2 separate regions of the Homo sapiens genome follow, and region 1 is linked to region 2. Evidence: promoter capture Hi-C in 16 types of primary human blood cells and fetal thymus (Javierre and others, 2016). All regions are on one chromosome and are shown on one strand. The core of a region is centred on a gene start or on the middle of the fragment in contact, and the rest is flanking DNA. Distances in the headings are between cores, read along the strand shown.

Evidence for each region. Contacts are between HindIII fragments. The CHiCAGO score rates a contact against its expected background, and 5 or more counts as called.
Region 1: a fragment that was not itself captured here is called in contact with the fragment with the promoter of LARP4B in region 2 in 1 of 17 cell types (fetal thymus); the score reaches 5.4 in fetal thymus.

The regions. Positions count from the first base shown.
Region 1 is chr10:373,319-378,318 of GRCh38, reverse strand. The region is part of intron 17 of DIP2C (disco interacting protein 2 homolog C); the gene reads left to right. Among named protein-coding and RNA genes, the nearest start is that of ZMYND11, 240 kb to the right of the region's middle. RefSeq lists an enhancer at 4,977-5,000. The HindIII fragment of the contact is 1,463 bases long and covers 1,512-2,974 here.
Region 2 is chr10:929,913-934,854 of GRCh38, reverse strand. LARP4B (La ribonucleoprotein 4B) reads left to right here and starts at 3,150. Exons shown (of 18, transcript NM_015155.3): 1 at 3,150-3,427. LOC124902363 (keratinocyte proline-rich protein-like) reads right to left here and starts at 2,864. Exons shown (of 2, transcript XM_047426111.1): 1 at 1,740-2,864; 2 at 1-19. The coding sequence starts at 2,728. The coding sequence ends at 2,024. LARP4B-DT (LARP4B divergent transcript) reads right to left here and starts at 1,829. Exons shown (of 3, transcript NR_120629.1): 1 at 1,740-1,829. RefSeq lists silencers at 2,570-2,659, 2,740-3,449, 3,520-3,629, 3,660-3,739, 3,830-3,959. The HindIII fragment of the contact is 3,248 bases long and covers 1,721-4,942 here.

The sequences.
Region 1 (5,000 bases), core at 994-3,493, 560 kb after region 2:
GTCAGCCAAGTGGTGGCAGGAAATCACGTTCTCTAGTGAAGTCTGCTCAGTCTTGCTACGTGAACTGTATTTTCACCTAGGCATTTAAAGTATTTTTTTCTCTTTAAAACTGTCACTGTCCTGTTATATTTTGTGTTTTCTTTTCTCCCGATGTTAGTTTTAGAGTAGAAAAATATTGGGGAAATAGGGGCTTGTGGTGCCTAAACTCATCAGACATTTTTTAAAGGACAAATTGCAAGGCGAAAACCAGGAAACTGTTTCCTGGCTACAAGTATCCCCTAAATCTCCTGCCATCTGACTCTGTTACCATCTCTAGAATGTAGATGATAGACTTGATTTTCTTAAAGCTACGTTGTGAAATGTTTATTGAACTGAAAAACATAATTTTTAGCTTTGTAACTACAAAGTACTATTTGGATACCCTGATATTTTAGTAATGAAAATGCAAAAATCATATAAAACAATGAAACAATAATTCCAGAAAAGATAAAATACCCCCTTGTCACCACAACCATCTTCTAGTTTTTGAAAGTATCCAAGCTCGAAGTTAGCTGGGAGAAAAATCAAAGAAGACGTGTCCGCAGGGAGAAGGGTGCTGTCTGATGCCCACTGGGTGCTGATGGTGCCTGGATGAGTGACAGCGGAGAAAACGTCAGCACAGCCCTGAGCCAAAGTGGATCCGAAGTGAGCACTTCCCACTGCTCGGAAAAGTCAGACCCAGAGTTCCATAATCCCGCATGTAAGAGAACGCAAGATAAACTGTGTCATTTTATCTAAAAAGAGGGATAAAATTTTGCAATTCTCTAACTACAGAGTAGTTTCGAGATGAAAATCACGTGACCCAGACCATGAGAGTTAGGTAGCATCGAATAGCAAACCAAGTTTCCTGTTTAATTTCACCCAACCACGTGCGTTTTACAGTGTGTTCTGTTTTGTGGTGAATTAGATGATGAGAAGTTGGTTTTGGCAAAGGAGGTGCAGCGGGAAGATGGCAGAGGAGGGGCCTCCCCACGGGGTCCCCCCCAGTTCCAGCCCATAACCTCCCCTGGAAATAGAAAGGTGGCCAAGGCTTATGAGAAAGAGTTTGTAAAAAAGTTTATATAGTGTGATCCCGTTTTTGGTAACAAAAAATTAAGTATCTGTAAATAGTATATTCAGTGCAAAAAAAAAAAAAAAACTGCGCTGCACAGGGTGGGTGAGGCAGTAAAGATGGGCAGCTCACTTTCCGTGCTGTGCAGCTTGTAAAATGGGCTGTTTTTAGTGGGCATGCATTGCTCCTGTTAGAGAAAAGGAAGAATATTACATTAAATCAACTCATAACTTAATATATTGGCTGCTTTTACATTGTATCTTTTCCTATTAAAAATCGCAATCTCACTTATCTGTTGTGTTTTTGAAAGTCTGTGTCACGCTAAACATCGAAAAAGGTACATGCACATTTTTCACTGAATTTCCCCTCGCGGTGCGTGTTTCCTGAAAATATTATTTCTGCTGAAATGAGTTCACAAGCTTAACTGCTCCTGTCCTTTAAAGGGCATTTTTACCAGTACTGTGAATTTATTAGTTCATTCTGCTGCTGTGAAAAAGAGTGGCCCAGAGAGGAAAGAAAGCAGAGGAGATGTTCTGTGTTCTGTGTGCGTTGTGTGGCTGCCCCGGCACCTTCATCAGGGCTGATTTACGTCCATCTAAAAGAGAAACCTTTGGTGGTGAATGGTGATTCAAGACCAGAGTAGCTGCCCTGTTTAAAAAAAAAAAAAAAAAGACACTTCCTCGGGGTTCTGGCTGCCAGTTCAGAAGGGAAGACCCCCCCTCCCAACCCCACTCTCAAACAGGCTTCCTGGTAACTTCGCATTTTGTCTGGAACCGGAATGCGTGTTCCCAAAGAAGCAACGTTGTGCAGGTGCTTCGACGCCAGCACAGGGAACGTCGTGTGTGGGATGAGCACCACCTCATTCTTGCTCTGTGCCGGCTCCGTCGGGGGCCGAGGTGGGCCTGGGTCCTTCTCCCTGCCGGCTCCGTCGGGGGCCGAGGTGGGCCTGGGTCCTTCTCCCTGCCGGCTCTGTCGGGGGCCGAGGTCGGCCTGGGTCCCCATCTCGCTGCTCTCGCGCCTGCTTTGTCATGTGGGCAGGGCTTCACCTTGAGGATTCCTCGTCTGTAGATGAGAATCACAGCAGTTAGCTACGTCAGAGGCCCGTGTGAGCATTGAGTGGGTTCATACACACACAGAGCTTGAAAGCACGCCTGGTACATAGTAAGAATTCAACAAATGTTACCGCCGTTACATGACTGCAGGCGTGTTTTGTGTGTGGTCCGTTGCATAGAAATGCTGTGTAAAGATTGCTGGGGAGGAGGGGCCTGCAGCTTAACTCTTTCTTCTCTAAATGTGCCGTTGTTGCTAAGCTGAGGAATACTACATTGGAGATCGCCCGTATAAGATAAAAAAAATGAAAGACCTTGTTGACTCACTTGCTTAAGGGATTCAGCAAATGATGAGCGGCACTGAAGCTGTGCAGGTGCAGTGTGGCTCTCTGTTAAGCCCTAGAACTGGAGGCTGTGAGGCTTGTTCACTACTTGATGTGTTTGTTTTGTGTGAATGTCCCAAGCCTGGCCTGGCTCTGCTTGTGGTCAGGAGTAGCAAACTGCAGATGTGTTCATGAAATTTATAGGAGCTGCTACTTCAAGGTGTTATGCGGGCAAGGCTTATGGAATGCTTTCCAGAGGCTGGAAATGCTATGACAAGTCAGTGGTGCAAATGGTTCAATGGAAGCCATAGTGTACATTCCTCGTGAGGCCACATTGCAAGGTCTGGCCTGCTTCTTTCCTTTTTGTTGGTGTGTTTGCATTGTTATAAAGGAATGTGTGAGACTGGGTAATCTATAAGGAAAAGAGGTTTATTTTGGCTCACAGTTCTGTAGGCTGTAAGAGAAGCATGGCTCCAGCATCTACTCAGCTCCTGGTGAGGCCTCAGGAAGCTTATGATCATGGCAGAAGGCAAAGTGGGAGCCTGCATGTCACATGGTGAGAGATTGAGCGAGCAAGAGAGAGAGAGAGGAGGTGCCCAGCTCTATTCTAAACAACTAGATCCCACGTGAACTCATAAAGTGAGAACTCTCGTGTTACTGCGAGAACAGGCCCACCTGCATTGTTGGACGTCACATTTCAACGTGAGATCTGCAGGCAACAAAACATCCAGACTCTGTTGTCCTTTAGTTTTATTTTGTTTCCCTTTTGCACGTCATCGTGGTATTGTATACACAGGTACGTATTTTGCTCCTTCCATATCTCCAAGAGAGGACTCTGCCTCCTTACATTCCTGGAGATCACTGAGATGGTCCCTCCTGGAATCCATATTCTTCATGAGACACACAAAGCTGTTTGGTCTTGAACACCATTTCACATGGGAACTGAGTTTGGAAGTTGATGAATGGGCGGATACCTTTATTAGCCATTTTTTAATGTACTGATATTGATTATTAAGGTGGATGTTTTTTAAACCCCCTCGAATTCTGCCTATGGGGACTGTTTCTTCCCTTCCTCACCTCATCTACCTACTTGGGATTTTTACTTCTTAGCAAGGTGTTGATGGAGATAAATATCATCTAAGTTTCTCAATAATACAGGGAACACAAATTGGACCAACAAATGGTGTTTTACTGAACAAATTGGGAAGCATTTTAAGTGTTGGCAAGAGTGCAGAGATGGGCACTGCTGAGCAGCTTGGCGCTGTGGTCAGATGCACAGATTCTGAAGCCAGACTGAGATTGGCGCTGGCTCCACTCCACAGCAGTGGCTTTGGGTAGCACTCAGCCCTCCTCGCCCCTGCCCCTGTCTGCTAAACAGGGAGGGTCATGGTGCTGCACCCATCTCCACAGGGTTGCTGTGCAGAATAGGTCATTAAATATATAACCACAACACAATACAGCCAGTGTGAGGTGCTTTTCTAGTAGATGAGAAAATAATACTCCTGTTCTGTTAGTGGGAATGCAAAGTATGTTATTTTGGGAGGATATTTAGGTCTTCTTAAAAATTTAAGTATATGTGCTTTGTGATGCTCCATTTTCTTTCTAGGTATGTATATTACAGATACATTTCCAGCTGTATAAAAATTGAATGAAAGAAAATATATGATCTTATATTTGTATTACTAAACACTGTGTGTAACAAACCAGCTGAATTCAGTGGTGCACACACCTACACAGATGCACACCCACACACAGACACATGGAAAGATCTGCAGATATGTTTAGTGAAGAGAGTGAGTTTTAGAATGTTGGGGTGATCAGATCCAACACCAGGTTGTTGGGGTGACAAAGTATGGTGGAGTCAAAGGAATGAGAAAAGACAGTTTGAGAGAGAAATTGGATCCGGGGGGCTATTGCGAGTATGGAGGCTGCGAAGGCCCTGAGCTCTGGAAGCCCAGACTATTTATTGGTGATCAAACAAAGAAACAGGTGTTGAGAATGTGGGGCTTGAAAGGGCAAGCGCATGATCTTACAGCTGTGACGGTTTAGCATTTTCTTTGAAGCATGTGGAACATATTCTGCTTGAGATAATGGAGAGCAGGTTCTTTTAACTCAGGATACAATCGACCCTGGGAGAGCAAGGAGCCAGCAAGTCTAGACACATTCCAGAGCCACAAGCCCTGGATTCTATCCAAGCCACGAGGGATTTTATGCCCTGGGCTTAGTTTATGGTGTGTCAGGGCAGCCTTCCACCCTTTAGCACAGAGCTTGGTGTTCCAAAGACCACAAGGGGTTTTAGACCGTGGACCCCAGACATGTTCTGAGACTCTTACATTATGTCAGACCTGCAAGCCCTGCCGCAGCTTCTCCCAACACTCAGCTTTTCTGCCAACATAGAATAAGCATCATCTTGATTCTGCTTTTCTTTTAAAAATCAATGTATTGGTATACATACATATTTTATACTTAACTGCATATCTAGGAGTCTAAACTTTGACATTAAAAAATCTGTATGTGGTTATTTGTGGGGCATAGGAT
Region 2 (4,942 bases), core at 1,901-4,400:
AGTAACAACGGCAAAACCACTGGGGGGACGGGGAGAAGGAAAGAGTTTTTAGGTAGGATTGACAGAATTTGTAACCACTTGACATGGGAAATGAGGGAGTGTATCTGATCATGGTTTGAGAAATTTATACTAAAGTTTTAAAAAACTGATCTTGTCTAAGGAGAGATGCCATGAAAATGTATTTCATGTTATAACCTCACATCTCAAGGTGAAAATGGATGTTTCTTCTGAGACACAGGTTTGAAAAAAAGAAGATCATGAGGGAACAAAAAGCCCAGTTCTGATTGTTGGAAAGGATTACACAATACGAAGAGAAAGAAGAGATGGAATTCTTTTAGTTTTAGTTTTTTTCTTTTTCTTTTTTTGAGACAGGGTCTCGCTCTGTCACCCAGGCTGGAATGCGGTGGCACAATCACAGCTCACTGCAGCCTCAACCTCAAGCGATCCTCCCACCTCAGCCTCCTGAGTAGCTGGAACCACAGCCATGCACCACATGCCCGGCTACTTTTGTATAATTTTTTAAAGAAATGGGGCTTTGACATATTGCCCAGACTGGTCTTGAACTCTTGGCCTTGGGCGATCTGCCTGCCTTGGCCTCCTAAAGTGCTGGGATTACAGGCATGAGCCACTGAACCCATCCCATTACTTTCTTTTGTAATAGGTAAGACATAGATGTCTGCTGGAATGTAGACATAGACAAAAAAGATTGAAGTTTAACCTACCAGCCGGGAACGGTGGCTCACGCCTGTAATCCCAGCACTTAGGGAGGCTGAGGCAGGCGGATCACGAGGTCAGGAGATCAAGACCATTCTGGCTAACACGGTGAAACCCCATCTCTACTAAAAATACAAAAAATTAGCTGGGCGTGGTGGCATGCGGCTGTAGTCTCAGCTACTCCGGAGGCTGAGGCAGGAGAATCACTTGAACCCGGGAGACTGAGGTTGCAGTGAGCCGAGATTATGCCACGGCACTCCAGCCGGGGTGACAGAGGGAGAGTCAGTCTCAAAAAAAAAAAAAAGTTTAACCTACCAATTTTGGGGCAGAATTCCTAGACTTATACCACATCAATGGCCCTAGCAATGTTATGAACCAAGAGTAAGCTCCTGTAGGTTATCCGTGGAGGTAAAGGAACCAGGCACCTAAGCAAGGACACTATGGCCTACTGGTCAGGGCAGGTTGTCCAGGTAAGCAAGTTTTCTGAAATATGTACATGCTTTTAATATTAAAGGAAATGTGTCTTATGTCGTTAAATGTTCTTTAAAAACATTACTATGAATATAATTATTTAACTTGCAAATTCCCTTAAAGCTAGGATGCAACAAGGTTTCACAAAGAAGGCACCCAACCTTGATGTCAACAGTCTACCCACTATGGGAAGCCGGAGAGGCTTTCTTCCAAAATGCAGAATTGTCAGCATTTGAACGCTGAGTACGAAAAATTATAAGCACAGGCTGGGTACACCGGCTCCCATCTCTAATCCCAGATTTTGGGGGCCCGAGACAGCACTCTGAGCTCAGAGTGCAGACCTGCATAGAGCAAGACCCTGTATCAAAAAACAAAATTAAAAAAGCAGTTGTAAGCACAGGTACACGGTTAACCATGAATATGGTATCCCTGAAAAGCCGTTTTAATGGGGGAACAAACCTAAAATTTGGAATAATTGATAATATGTGTATATGTAGCCAATCAGAGCAGAAACCAGAAAATCAGGCAGCAAGCTTAAGGGAAACGCAACATACTTTGTTTGGTTTCCTTTTCTTCCATAAACTGATCAGGGGTAGGTAGAGTATGCTGCTATAGTTCGGAGTCGTCACCATCCTCACGGAAACGGCAGGAGTGTGAACACCTCCCTGAGCTACCAAGAGCATCTGACTCGTTGCAACGTGGGCCCGAACCCAGCGCCTCTAGGAAACGTGGGGCCGGGGCCTTTTGGTCCCGGGTGTGGGTTGGGGGTTTGGGGAAGGGCCGGGGCCTTGATCCCAGGTGTGGGGTTGGGGATTCCGGGGCTGAGCCGAGGCCTTGGTTAGGGGTGTGGGGCGGGGGTTCGGGGCAGTGCCGGGGCCTTGGTCCCGGGTGTGGGGTTGGGACTTCGGGGCCGGGACCTTCGTCTCAGGTGTGGGGCGGGAGTTCGGGACAGGGCTGGGGCCTGGGTCCCTGGTGGGGCGTTCGGGGCAGTGCCGGGGCCTTGGTCCCGGGTGTGGGGTGGGAGTTTGGGGCAGGGCCGGGGCCTGGGTCCCGGGTGGGGCGTTCGGGGCAGGGCCGGGGCCTTGGTCCCGGGTGTGGGGTGGGAGTTTGGGGCAGGGCCGGGGCCTGGGTCCCCGGTGGGGCCTTCGGGGCAGGGCCGGGGCCTTGGTCCCGGGTGTGGGGTGGGAGTTCTGGGCAGGGCCGGGGCCTTGGTCCCGGGTGTGGGGTGGGAGTTCTGGGCAGGGCCGGGGCCTTGGTCCCGGGGGTGGGGTGAGGGGTTCGGGGCAGGGCCGGGGCCTTGGTCCCGGGTGTGGGGTGGGAGTTCGGGGCAGGGCCGGGGCCTGGGTCCCGGGTGTGGGGTGAGGTGTTCCGGGCAGGGCCGGGACCTTGATCCCAGCTGTGGGGTGGGAGTTCGGGGAAGGGCCAGGGCGTGTCCTGGGTGGCCAGGGTCGGGGCCTGGGTCCTGGGGGTGGGATGAGGGGTTCGGGGCAGGGCCGGGGCCTTGGTCCAGGGTCTGGGGACAGGCTAGGGCCGGGGTCGCCATCCGTCCTGGGCGGCGGGCAGGGGTCTTTAAGGGGCGCACGCGGTGGCGGAGGACCAGGGCCCAGCCCTCCGGAAGTCAGGGCCCACACGGCCCCCCAGCGTCAGGCGCTCCGGTCGCGCCGGGGACGGCGGGCGGGGCGGGCGGGGCGGGCGGGGCGGACGTGCGGCGTGCGCGGGGCGGGGCGATGTGCGCGCACGCGCCAATCGCAAGGCCGCGAGCAGGGTGTACGCGCGGAGAGGCCAAGAAGGCGGCGGGGCGGGCCGAGCGTCGGGTGCGCCCAATCAGCGCGCCGCAACACCATGACGTGAGGCTCTCCCGGGGCTGAGCGCCAGTCCGCGGGACCGGCGGGTGAGTGCGCGAGTTCAGGGCGCGAGGCGCGGGTCCGCGCGGGGGCGGGACTTCCGCAGGGCCCCGGAAGTGGGAGCTGTGTGTTCTCATGCGAACGGGAAGGAGCGTTGGGGATCTGGAGTCCCGGGGTTGAGACATTTTCGGGCCCGAAAGGGGAAGAATCCGCCGCCGCCGCCGCCGCCAGCTCGCGCCCGCCCTCTCCCCTACCTCCGGCCCGGCCCGGCCCGGCCGCGCCGCCTCTCCCTGCCGTCTCTCTCCTCGCCGTCCCCGCGTGTGGCGCGGCCGCCGGGCCCCGGGGTTGAGGCGAGGAGCCCGCGGGCGGCCGGTCGGGCGGGGCGGCGGCGCTGACAGGTGAGGCACCCTGGGCCGCGGCGGGCCGTCCCTCCCGGCCCAGCTCGGACCCGCGCCGCGCCGCCTGTCACTGCGCCGCCATCTTCCCGGAGGACGCGGCCGCGGCGGGCAGGGCCGGGCCTGGGCCGGGGCCGGGGCCGGGGCAGGGGAAGGCCGGGGCCGGGTTGAGGAGGACCGGGGCTAGGGCACGGGAAGGGCCAGGGCTGAGGAGGACCGGGGTCAGGGCCAGGAAAAAGCCGGGGCTGAGGAGGACCGGGGCCGGGGCAGGGGAAAACTGGGGCTGAGGATGGCCGAGGCCGGGGCAGGGGAAGGCCGGGGCCGGGGCTTAGGAGGACCCGTTGAGGCGAGGCGGGAGTCGACGGAGCTGGGTGCCCGGAAGACCGGGCCGGGGTCAGGGTCGGGAGGCCGGGGTTGGGCGAAGGCCGGCGAGGACGGGGGTCGGGCAGGGCCTGGGCGGGGCCGGGGTCGCGGGCCGCGAGCGCCCCCAGGCCGGGCGGGCGCCGGCACCCGCAGTGCGGCGCCAGCCTTGCCACTCGCTCCTCGGTCCCGCCGGAGCCCGGATAGGCGGCCGTGCGGGTGCGGGGCGGGACGGGTCATCAGGGCATCGCATTCCTTTAGAACCAGGAAGTTGGGATCCTGTTGCTCGGTGTGTGTTTGGAACGCTCCTGTTTTCCTGTTGATAGACTTGAGCAGAGGTGGATCTGAAGGAGTTAAAAAAATAAAGTCAGATGTGAAGATTGCCTGTGTTGGTCTTGGGGCTGGGATACATGGGCGGCAGAGAAGCCATCGGAAAGCTGCTGCACCTGCCTCTCAGGGTGCGCTTGGGAACGTGAAGAGTCTTTCCGTTTCAGTGCCGTTGTGCGTCGAAACTTCATGCGAATGTAATTTTGCTTTTCCCCTTATTTTTACGTAAAACGTTCTTAAAACTTGGCTGAGATGAAACTTGAGAAACCTAGCTGTAGAAAACTACCTCCTATCTGGCTTTCGTTTGAGATTCTCTAAGTGGATGCCCAATAACTTGTCTTAATAGTAAATTGGAAGTTTGAAGTTTTGGATAACTGAGAAAACAGGAAGGTTTTCCTTGACAGGGCAGTGGAGTTTGTAAGTATAAACAGTATGCGTGAGGCCTTTTTCTAGAGATGAGAGCAACTCCAAGGTGAACATTGAAGGGGACAGACAAGTTATTTTCCCTTTCGAAAGTTTTTTTCTCTTAGTTTCAGTTGTTTGAATATTTAAATGCACTTGAAATAGGTGCTGAGTTGTAGTTTGTGAAGACCACAGTGGGGAAGAGTGGTGTCCTCTTTTTTCTTGGTGGTCAGGTGGTGTGTGCAGTGTGCAATTTCCATACTTCCCCAACCTGCCTGGCGCCCCTCATTACAGTCAGGGTAATTTACAGAAGTTGAAATCGTTGTGGCTTTTCAGTTTTTTCTCCTTGTATTTAATATGCTGAAAGGCAGTTTTGTAATCAAACCATATAAGAAATAGCTTAATTGAGGTTTGCTAAGTGAAATGCGT